Regions from separate parts of the Homo sapiens genome. Here region 2 is linked to region 1. The links are contacts of gene promoters, found by promoter capture Hi-C in blood cells and fetal thymus (Javierre and others, 2016). All regions are on one chromosome and are shown on one strand. Each heading gives the region's core, a stretch centred on a gene start or on the middle of the fragment in contact. The rest is flanking DNA. Distances are from core to core; before and after follow the strand shown.

Region 1 (6,572 bases), core at 1,983-4,482:
CAGATCCAGATTAGCAATAATAATGTTTCCAAGTCATCACCATGGAAAGAGGAGTAGGAAGGAATTGAGATGTGTAGCAGTTGCAGAAATCAGGGATTCAGGAGCATCAAAATATTTGAATGTCGGTCAAGCTGATGCCCGATCAAGCACTGTTATAAGAAGGTTTCAAAATGTGATGTTTTTACAAGTTTGTATATAACCTGACTTATATGAATCATGTTGAAAGTGGCCGATGTTAATATTCTGCTATTCTGCTGAGGTTTTTGTATGTGTTTTTTGTTTGTTTGTTTGTTTGTTTTTGAGACGGAGTCTCACTCTGTCGCCCAGGCTGGAGTGCAGTGGAGCCATCTCAGCTCACTGCAACCTCTGCCTCCCGGGTCAAGCTATTCTCCTGCCTCAGCCTCCCAAGTAGCTGGGATTACAGGCGTGAGCCACCACACCCGGCTAATTTTGTATTTTTAGTAGAGACAGGGTTTCGCCATGTTGGCAAGGCTGGTCTCGAACTTCTGACCTCAGCTGATCCGCCCACCTTGCCTTCTCAAAGTGCTGGGATTACAGGCATGAGCCACGACGCTCAGCCTCTGCTGGTTTTTTAAACAAGTTTATTGAGATATAATTCGTGTACTGTAAAATTAACCCTATTAAAGTGTACAGTTCATTCAGTTTTTATATATTCACAAAGTTATGCAACTATCACCATATCTAATTATAGAACATTTTCATCTCTCCAAAAAGAAACCCCATACCCATTAGCAGTCCCTTCCACATTCTCCCTCTTCCCCAGTCCTCAGCAACCACTACTTTTCTGTCTCTATAGATTTGCCTATTCTGGACATTTCATATATGTGTAATCATATAGTATGTGGTCTTTTGCAACTGGATGCTTTATTTAGCATAATGTTTTTGGGGTTCATCCATGTTGTAGCATGAATCAGTACTTCATTCCTTTTCATTTCTGAATAATATGCGTTTGAATGGATATATGACGTTTTATTCATCAGTTGGTGGATATTTGGGTTGTTTCTGTTTTTTGGTTATTGTGAGCATCACTCTGTAAACATTCTTGGACAAGTTTTTATGTAGATGTATGTTTTCATATCTCTTGGTTATATGTCTAGGAGCAGAATTGCTGGGTCATATTGGTAACTATGTTTAACCTTTTGAGAAACTGCCAAACAGTTTTCTAAGGTGGCTATACCATTTTGCATTCTCATCAAGCTGTGGATTAGGGGTGGGCCCCTATTTCAATATATTAATAACTGGTGTCTATAAAAAGGGGAAATTTGGAGACCGTTATTCATACAGGAAAAATGCCACATGAACATGAAAATGGCCATTTACAAGCCAAGGATAGAGGCCTGGAACAGATCCTACTTGACCATTTTAAGGAACCAACCCTGCCAACACCTTGATTTTACCCTCAGAACTGTGCAAAGTTAAATTTTTGTTGTTTAAGCTACCCAGTTTGTCATACTTTGTCACAGAAGCCCTCGCAAACTACTACATAAGTGGTCCATGTCCATTCTGTCCTAGCAAATAGGCAAACTTCTTTTGTTTTGATGACACACACTCCTGCTGTGACATACAGTAGTAAACTTAAAAGTAAAATAAGTCGGGCGTGGTGGTTCACGTCTGTAATCCCAGCACTTTGGGAGGCCAAGGTGGGCGGATCACGAGGTCAAGAGATGGAGACTTTCCTGGCCAACATGGTGAAACTCTGTCTCTACTAAAAATACAAAAATTAGCCAGGCATGGTGGTGCGTGCCTGTAGTCCTAGCTACTCGGGAGGCTGAGGCAGAATTGCTTGAACCCAGGAGGTGGAGATTGTAGTGAGCCGAGATCGAGCCACTGCACTCCAGCCTGGTGACAGAGCAAGACTCTTGTCTCAAAAAAAAAAAAAAAAAGTAAAATAGATGTCATCTGTCCTGACGGAAATACAAATCAAAGCCATAGTGAGATACCTTTGTGTCTATAATTACAAAAATCAGATAATAACAACAGTTGAAAAGGATGTAGACAAATTGGAATCCTCATATACTGCCAGTAGGAGTGTAAAGGGTGTGGTCATTTTGGTGAGTCTGGAAGTTCCTCAATTTGTTAAACACTTAAATAAGTAAACATGAGTTACCCTGTGACCCAGGAATTCCACTCCTAGGTATATAACCAAGGGAAATGAAAATATGACCAAACAAAACTGTACACCAACGTTTATAGCAGCACTATTTATCGTAGTGAAAAAGTAGAAACAACCCAAATGTCCGTCAACTGATGAATGGATAAGCAAAATGTAATATCCATGCAGTAGAACATTGTATGACAATACGAAGCAATGAAGGGCCAGGCGAGTGGCTCATATCTGTAATCCTAGCACTTTGAGATGCCAAGGCGGGAGGATCCCTTGTGTCCAGGAATTTGAGATCAGCTGGGGCAACATAATTTCTACAGAAATTAAAAAAATTAGCTGGGCATGGTGGCATACATTTGTGGTCCCAGCTACGTGGGAAGCTGAGGCAGGAAGATCACTTTAGCCCAGGAGGTTGAGGCTGCAGTGAGCCATGATCTTGCCACTGTACTCCAACCTGTGCAGTGGAACAAGACCCTGTCCCAAGTGGGGGGATGGGGGGAGGGAAGGGAAGGAATGAAGTGTTGACACATGTTCCAATGTGAATGAACCTTGAAAACATGCTAAGTAAAAGAAGACAGTTACAAAGGACCATGTACTGTATGATTCCAGGCATACAAAATGTCCAGAATAGGCAAATCTATAGAGACACAAAGTAAATTAGTGGTTGCCTTGGGCTGGGAGAATGGAGGGGATTAGCAGGTGATGACTAAGAGCAGTGGGGTTGTTTTTTGTGGTAATAAAAATGTTCTAAAATTGATTGTAGTGAGGGTCACACTACTCCGAATATACAAAAGCCATTTAATGGCTTTTATACCATTCGGTAGTAATATGCCATTGTATGGTATGTGAATAATATCTCAGTAGAGTGGTTTTTTGAAAACACTAGAACATATATGATCAAAAAATGAAAAAATCAACTAGACCTGGTAATCTGTGTTTAAGAGTAGCAGTTGATTGATCATTTATTATGCATGTGCTATGTCAGACTTTTTTTTTTTTTTTGAGATGGAGTCTCGCTCTGTCCCCCAGGCTGGAGTGCAGTGGCGCAATCTTGGCTCACTACAAGCCCTGACTCCCGGGTTCACGCCATTCTCCTGCCTCAGCCTCACGAGTAGCTGGGACTACAAGCACCCACCACCACACCCGGCTAATTTTTTGTATTTTTAGTAGAGACAGGGTTTCACCGTGTTAGCCAGGATGGTCTCAATCTCCTGACCTCTTGATCTGCCCGCCTCGGCCTCCCAAAGTGCTGGGATTACAGGCATGAGCCACCGGGCCTAGCCCAAAACTGTCATTTTGAAGCAACACTTACTAGAATTCATATAGAAAAAAAAAACTATTAAAATTCCTCTGCTTAGATTCTCTAGGTCTTACAACTTTATCAGCTACCTGTTTACCTAGATCATATTGCTCTAGCATCCTTTTTTTTTAAACCCAAAGAATTCTTCACTGATCTTGCTTATTTTAGAAATATTTTTAGCTTTACTTGTAAGAAAGGTACTGCTCTTTAAAGATTGAAGAGCATAAGATGAAGACTGAAATGTGGGATCTTACTGCCTTTTTTCTTTCTTAATCAGTGACTTTTAAACCTCTATGAAGATCCAGATCTAGAATTCTAGGACAAGTGCCCTTGTGGTTCTACTTACTCTACGGTGGTAATTAGCAATTTAGTAACCTTAAGGAAGTATTTTGTTGTTAGTTTATTGCTCTTTTTTTCCTCTACTAATTTTACTTTTTTTTTCCTTTTTACTGTCCATATTTAACGTAAGTATATCCTTTGTATCTTTTTCTTCCCATACTATAACAAGGGTCTTGAAACTCTTTATCTCTGATTATTCTACTCCTGCACTTTAAATTGTAAGTGATACAAATCCAAAGCATACAAACTCAACAAAACAGGAGTCAGAGAATTTACTAAACTCATCGAATGCCAGGTCCAGAAGTTAAGAGGCAGCCAGGTTCAGGTCTCAGATGGTGTAATCCGAGTCTTATTTCTTCTCCACAGGTATTCTGTAGACAGCTTCTTTCATGTTGCCAGGAAAAATTGGTTACTATAAATCCTGACTTACTTGGTCCTTATGGCTCTTGATCCCGATAGCAGTGAGCCAGTGGCAAGGATGATCATATGGCATATTCTGAATGACCCAGCTTAAGTCACATGTTCAACATTGAACTGTGGCCAGGGACTGGAGTATAGTTCATGTCTAGGTCATGTTCTCACTCCTGGGGCTGGAAGTGGAACTTAACTGCCAGGCAAGGCTGCTGACATTGAGTGATATTATTACCAGGAGAGGTGGAGGAACAAGGTATTCAAGAGACAAAAATAATAGAGGCTAGTAAGTGTAGTTAGTATACATTGAACAAAAAACATGGGCCCATGTACAAAGGAATGACATCAGATCTTAGAATACATTAAAACTATGTAATTCTTTGAGTTGCATGGAGCCCACAGTGCTAGAGAAGTACGTATTTTAAGAGATACAGTGGATAATGATAAATGATAATGGGGCTAAAAGTAATAAAACATTAGAAATATCGAGTTATAGATTAATTGGTTCAAGTGTAATGCCAATTCTTTAAGCACACATCATAAGCAGCTGATACGAAAACATCAGTTTTCACACATTGGTACCATCCAATAGAGTTGTATACAGTGATGGAATTGTTTCGTATCTGCACTGCTCAACATGGTGGCCACTAGCCATATATGCCTGCTGAGCAGTTGAAATGTGTCTAGTGTAACTAAAGAACTGAATTTTTAATTATATTTAGTACTGAACAGCTGTATGTGGCTGGTAGCTACCTTATTAGACAGCACAACTATCTAAATTTGGAACAACTTGATCAATATCCTGCCTCCTATATTTAATTTAAGATATTGGGGAGTTTTACAAACCTTGCTTGCTGTTGTTTTCCCATTTGTAAAATGAGAGTAAATATCTTATAATAAATAACCTTAGTGGGTTATTTTAAGGATTAATTGACTTAATCCATGTAAATGTGCCTGGCACTCACCTAGCATTTAGCATTTAAGTGTTAGTCTTTATTGTCATTGTTATATCACTACCTTAGAATGGGAGCTAAAGAAATGAGTAGCCAGTAATCCAACAGTTAAAAATTTTATTGAACATCTTTGGAGCTGTAGCAGTTGAACAGTTTATTAATGTGTATATTATTATGGACTGAGTACAGAATATGTAGTTTGGGGAGATTTAGGGATGAACATTTCAGTACTGTCTTGGCAATTTAAAATTTTTATCAAACAAAGGTTTCTGTACATATTTCATGGTGATTTGGTCAGTATTTTGTTTCTAAGGTGGTTAAATGTGTTTTTAAACTTTTAAAATGATAATCATCTTCCTTTTAGGATTCCTTAAGGGTTTTCTTCTCTGAAAGTCAAAATGTAATTTAAAAAGTTTAAAGGGTTACTACTTTTTAGCCTGTCTTAACTTTAAAATTGTTTTACAAAAACTTAAAACTAAAATACCTTATCAGTGGTATTTATGATTCCACAAAGTGTGTGTGTGTGTGTGTGTGTGTGTGTGTGTGTGTGTGTGTGCATGCGTGTGTGTGTGTGGTTTTGTTGTTGTTGTCGGAGACAGGGCCTCGCTTGGTCTCCCAGGCTAGAGTGCAGTGGCATGATCACGACTCACTGCAGTCTCGACCTTCTGGGCTCAAGTGATCCTCCTGTGTCAGCCTCCCACACAGCTGGGACTACAGGCACATGCCACCACATCCAGCTAATTTAAAAAACATTTTTTTTGTAGAAATAGGGTCTTACCATGTTGCCCAGGCTAGTCTCAAATTCCGGGGCTCAAGCAATCCTCCCACCTCACCTTCCCAAAGTGCTGGGATTACAGGCATGAGTCACCATACTTGGCCCACAAAATATATTACCTTCTTGCATTCCTTGCTAGATTGTTATTTTGTCCCCTGAGATATTTTGGGATGGTAGAAAATCACCAGGTCCATCCTGCATTTCTTCTAATTTATACTATTTTTGTGCCTTTTAAAATATCAACCCTTGGCTAGAAGTATATTTATATGCCTTAATCTCTGTATTATCAATTATTAGATACTTGGGCTGAGCCCCTTGGACCATCTCATTTCCCTCCTTCCTGCAGTAGGATCCAACTATTTACTACTGTCTGTAATTCAGTATTTTAGACACTTGTTTAGTAGTTGGTTGTCTCTTATCACTAGTTGATTGAAGGAACTGTCTATCTCCATGAATGTTTGAAGTATGCCCTGGCAGAGCTCTTTATGTTTTTGGAATGTGGAGCTGACTATAGCTTTCTCTCAGTAATAAATTCATCTAAGTAATGAAACATTCACTTACTAAATAAAAGGAAAAAGAGATACACTCTTAATTTATGCTATGCGCAGTAGATAGAGTTGAACAAAAGTTTTAAATATTTCACTATCATCATGTATAATTCAGTTCGCA
Region 2 (5,762 bases), core at 2,615-5,114, 510 kb before region 1:
ACAATAGATGAACTTACAAACAGTATTATCACCCAAAGTCCATAGTGTAAATTAGGGTTCACTCTTGGTGTTGTACATTCTATGGGTTAGGACAAAGGTATAATGACATGCATCCACCATTTTAGAAGGTACAGAATAGTTCCATGGCCCTAAAACTCCCCTGTGTTCTGCCCATTCATTCCTCCCTCCTCACTAACCCTGGGCAACTGGTGATCTTTTTATTTCTCTGGGAGGCTCCCAATCAGTTGCCACATTAAAAGGCAACTTCTAGAAACACAGATCTTGTGATTAGAATTGAATCCACAATCTTTCTTGCAATCCACTTTGTTTTCTAATTGACATTTATCATTACTACCTGTTACTCCTTTTGATTTAAACTTGCTAGAATAGATATTAGTTTCCCCTTCAAATTTCTAGCAGAATACTTTGAAATAGTGAATGAATTCCTCAAGTCTTTATCTACCTTTGTTCAAAGTGAAGTTACATAATAATAACAATAATACAACAACAGCAATCATGCCCAACATTTATTGAATGCTTGCTACGTGTCATATGCTTTTCTAAATGGTTTACAGGTGTTTGTTCTATTTAATTCCAAATAACACCATCAGAACAGTTGTATTATTATCCCTATTCTATAGATGAGGAAAATGAAGCACAGACATTGGCAAAATGGTATCTCACTCCAGAGAGATGAGAGTGCTACTGCCCAAAAAGATGTAATGGAGCCAGGCGCAGTGGCTCATACTTGTAATCCCAGCACTTTGGGAGGCCGATGTGGGTGGATCACCCGAGGTCAGGAGTTCGAGACCAACTTGGCCAACGTGGTGAAACCCCATCTGTACTAAAAATACAAAATTAGCCAGGCATGGTGGTGCATGCCTGTAATACAAGCTACTTGGGAGGCTGAGGCAGGAGAATCACTTGAACCTGGGAGGCAGAGGTTGCAGTGAGCTGAGATTGCACCATTGCACTCCAGCCTGGGCAACAAGAGTGAAACTCCATCTCAAACAAACAATGACAACAAAAAAGATGTAATGGAACTAGTATTTAAAGGCACATTTGCAGAATAGTCTTATTTCCGTTTTCATGTTTGGACCTTAGCTAGATGGGGATGAGCTCATCATTACTCCTTGCTAGCCACACTGGATGGTGTCAGGCTTTCCTCTTGTTTTATTTTTTCCCTTCAGCTCTGATCCCCTCTGCCTGATAAGAACCCAATCTAATGTGCCTGAGAGGTATCCTCAATAAGTGTATATCCTTATAAGGCATGTAGTGCTGTTATATTACATTGGTTTTTAATTTACACAAATAATATTGTACTCTAGATCTTGTTAATTATTTGTTAACACTTTGCTTTTTAAGCTTTATCCTTGTACTTATATGTACAAGGTTTTTGGTTTTATGTTCACCGTATTTTATTACTCCCTTAGTGATGGACATCTAAGTTGTCCACTCCACAAACAACACTGTGATAAACATCCTTGTTTGGACCTTATTATGCACCCTGTAAACGTTTCTCTGGGGCAAGTGGGTCGAATGGATTTAATTTCACAAAGTACTGCCAGATTGTCCTCCAGAATGGCTGTATCAATTTACACTCCCACCAGTAATGCCTAACAGTTTTCTTTAAGCTCTTTTAAGAGAAGCAGACGTTTAGTTGATTGCTGTCACTTAATCATCATTATCTTAATCATTAGCATTTAATAAGCAGTGTACTTGGAACCTTACTAAGGGCGGAAGGGGCAGATGATATACTCAAAATCAGGACACAGAAATAATTAAAACCAATACACACATCTGTCCCAGTAAATTGCTTTGTAACTTAGATTTACATACTTGTTTTTGAAAATGCAACAGTATTTGCAGGATCATTTCAGGGGGAAAAAAGGTTTTCCGAAACAAAGGATAATTAAAACTTGTCTTTCAATAAAGCTAAAAATCAGATATTCAAATAACAACTAGGCAAGAAATAGATATTTATATCACACTTTATTCATAAAGTACTAATAAAACTTCAAACATTTTTCCCCCAAGGTTATTACCTAGCAATGTTATGGAGTTGTAATTTAACTTTTTAATGTGACCCTTAAGGGAGAGCATTTCATAAGTAGTATCTATCATCTAAAATAAAACAAAAAAATTTAGATTTAACTAAACTACAATCCCAAAATTATCAAATCAAATCACTGCAATACCGGGTAATGTGGTCATTATTTGGCCATTTATTGTCTCACATACTCAATAGAGACTGGAGGAAGACAATGAAGATGGAATGAGCACATAGCATTATCCCTATATGCAGGTCATTCTTTTAGTTAACATGCACAGACCATGGCTTTTAAAAATTATTTTTATTAGAGATGGGGTCTCACTCTCTCATCCAGGCTGGAGTACAGCAGCTTGATCATAGCTCACTGCAGCCTCAAACTCCTAGGTTTAAGGGATCCTCCCACCTCAGCCTCCCAGATAACTAGGGCTACAGGTGCACAGCACTATGCCCCGCTAGTTATTTTTATGTTTTATTTTTGTAGAGACAGAGTCTCACTATGTTGCCCAGGCTTAGTCACAAACCCACAGTGCTTTTTATTATTGAGCTCTATTTCCTCTTCCAACCTTCAATCTGTACATGTCCATTTTAGGTTTTTTTCATAAGAAAATATTTCTCAATTTTCCATTTAGAATTGTTGTTGTTATTGTTGTTGTTGTTGTTGTTACAGAGTCTCCCTCTATCGCCCAGACTGGAGTACAGTGGCACAATCTCGGTTCACTGCAACCTCCGCCTCCTAGGTTCAAACAATTCTCCTGCCTCAGCCTCCCAAGTAGCTGGGATTACAGGCACCTGCCACCTTGCCGGCTAATTTTTGTATTTTAGTAGAGACAGGGTTTCACCATGTTGGGCAGGCTGGTCTCGAACTCCTGACCTCAGGTCATCCACCCTCCTTGGCCTCCCAAAGTGCTAGGATTACGGGCATGAGCCACCATGCCCGCCCCATTTAGAACTGTTTTGGTCAATGATTTTTGAGGAATAGTGTTTCATTCCACAGAGGTTTTTAGTTTAGCATCTATTAAAACCCAGTCTTTTTTATTTTTAATTGCATGCATGGTTTATCTATTTGTAAAACCAAAACCTTTTGTTATAGTGTACATTTGATTTAGAACCTTATGCAATAAAGATTTAAAGCAACAGAAATCTCATTTCATGTTGAGAAAGCATGGTTAAGAACATATGTATACAATATTGATTGGTTACAAGAAGATTCATACCATGTAAAGTTTACACATATTTGGGTGATTAAACTAAAAGATTACCCCTAGGTATAATTCAATGAAGGCAAGTGTTTTTCATACACTTTTCTTGTCATTAGTAATTTAGCCTATGGTCTAGAGGTGCCTGCATAAGTATTGGAGGAAATCGTCACAATATTTGAAAAGTAAAAAATAGTTTATTACAACTCCAAGGATATTATTATTTGAGATTAGGACACAGTTTCTTCTATCAGTTTACCAGGCATTCCTCCTCTGGGACATCCTTTGGGGAGTAAAAAAGTTGCAACATACAGTTTATCTAAAATGAGATGAAAAGCAGAGATTCGGCTTACCTGTGCTGTGTTTTGCTGAGGGACGTGGCACACAGTTGAAGAAACACCAAGCCAAACAGTAGCCAACATCATCCTAATTCATTGTGGCACTGATTTCTGGGACAGCTGTAACCCACACTTCAACCAGGGATCCATTTAAAAACAGCATAGATTCAGATTTTTTTTTCAGTGTTGTACAGCCCAAATAATTTTTCCTTTTAAATTTTGTCTTTAATTAAGCTGGTCCTGCATGCACAAACCCTTTAGTTAGCTGCAAATAGACTGCTTAGTTTACAGGTTGTCTCCTAGGCAACCATCCACTGTGCATTTAGCTTAGAGAATTGAAAGCAGGACAGTCTCATCCAGGAAGGAAAACAAGTTTTGTATGCTCTTCCAAGTTGTTGCTTAAGTGCTTTAAAACTACCAAACCCCTATGTACTTCCATGGTTGGCACAATTACTGTGATCACCTGATGCACTGAGACTTTCTCTAAGAGATCCATGCCTTTGTAATCCCCACAAGGTGCCAGAAGGGCCCCTTTCAAAGCTGCATATAGGTCACAGAGTGAGAATCCAATCGATTACCACCAAACTGATTGCATTCTTAGACTCAGCCTTGAGAAAGCGCTAGCAGACAGAAATCCTTACATTACAACATACTTCTTCTCTAGATATGCTTGTGATATTCTGAAGCAAAAGCTTCAGTAAACAGACTGCATTTTTGTCTGAGTCCAGTGGTAATAAACCCAACTGCAAAAGACTTCAAATCATGGACTATGAAAACATAATCATGAGGAAGTGGACACAGGGCACTCCATAAGGTCACCCGGCATTTGTGTGCTGCTAAATTCTTTTCTGCCACTTACCAAAGGATGCAGGGGTTTCTCTTCTAAGGTAGGGCGTAACATTATATATTCTCAACTGAATGGGGTACGATATTCTATCGCAATAACAACAGCTGACATTTATTGACTAGTTCCTACGTTAGTCCATAAAGGACATGATTAATGTCATTTAACCCTCATAACAACTCTATGGAGTTGAAACAATAAACAGCATCATTGCCACGTTACAGAAGATGACACTGAGGCTTAGAACTTTTGAGCTAATGAATGGTGGAGCTAGGGATTGAACCTAAGCGGCCTGGCCACAATGTTGCAATACTACCTTTACCATGCGCAAGCACGTACACACACACACACACACACACACTCTCTCTCTCTCTCTCTCTCTCTCTCTCCTTTAGTGGATGAAGACTTCAGGGTAAAAACCATTCAGAGATTGTTAGATCTACGTAAACTCCCTCATTACCAATTCAACTTCAAGCTGCTTGACACCAATTTAAGCACACACAGGCTATTACTCTGTTTTGCTTCCTATGCTCTACTTTGCTTCTACTCCCATCAAGGTGAGTACTCTCTCAGCCTAACAGAGGAAGGTGCAAGTACCGTAGTTTCTGACTTTTAGGATTTCTGCCAGGTTATCCTAGGGTTCCAGCTTGTCTGCAATCCATGAATCTTTAAATTGGCTTCTCAAAAAGTAATCCTGGCCAGATGTGGTGGCTCACACCTGTAATCCTAGCACTCTGGGAGGTTGAGGTGGGTGGATCACCTTAGGTCAGGAGTTCCAGACCAGCCTGGCCAACATGGTGAAACCCCATCTCTACCAAAAATAAAAAAATTAGGCCAGGCGTGGTGGCTCACACCTGTAATCCCAGCACTTTGGGAGGCTGAGGTGGGTGGATCACGAGGTCAGGAGTTCGAGACCATCTTGGCTAACACGGTGAAACCCCGTCTCTACTGAAAATACAAAAAAAATAACCGGGTGTGGTGGCAGGCGCCTGTAGTCCCAGCTACTCGGGAGGCTGAGTCAGGATAATGGCGTGAACCTGGGAGGCGGAGCTTGCAGTGAGCCGAGATCGCACCACTGCACTCCAGCCTGGGCGACTGAGCAAGACTCCATCTCAAAAAAAAAAATTAGCCGGGTGTGGTGGCTAGTGCCTGTAATCCCAGCTACTCGGGAGGCTGAGGCAGAATTGCTTTGAACCCAGGAGGCGGAGGTTACAGTGAGTCGGGATTGTGCCACTGCACTCCAGCCTGGGTGACAGAGTGAGCAAGACTCCGTTCCCACCCCCCCCAAAAAATGTAATCTTCTGGCTATGCGCAGTGGCTCACGCCTGTAA

The links. The method cuts DNA at HindIII sites, captures the fragments that hold promoters and counts their contacts. A CHiCAGO score of 5 or more calls a contact.
Region 2: the fragment with the promoter of MAP3K19 here is called in contact with a fragment that was not itself captured in region 1 in 2 of 17 cell types (naive CD4 T cells and fetal thymus); the score reaches 5.6 in naive CD4 T cells.

The regions. Positions count from the first base shown.
Region 1 is chr2:135,553,410-135,559,981 of GRCh38, forward strand. The region is part of intron 1 of R3HDM1 (R3H domain containing 1); the gene reads left to right. Among named protein-coding and RNA genes, the nearest start is that of R3HDM1, 25 kb to the left of the region's middle. The HindIII fragment of the contact is 9,576 bases long and covers 1-6,572 here.
Region 2 is chr2:135,043,583-135,049,344 of GRCh38, forward strand. It overlaps MAP3K19 (mitogen-activated protein kinase kinase kinase 19), which reads right to left and starts at 3,865. Exons shown (of 13, transcript NM_025052.5): 1 at 3,603-3,865. The HindIII fragment of the contact is 2,914 bases long and covers 1,364-4,277 here.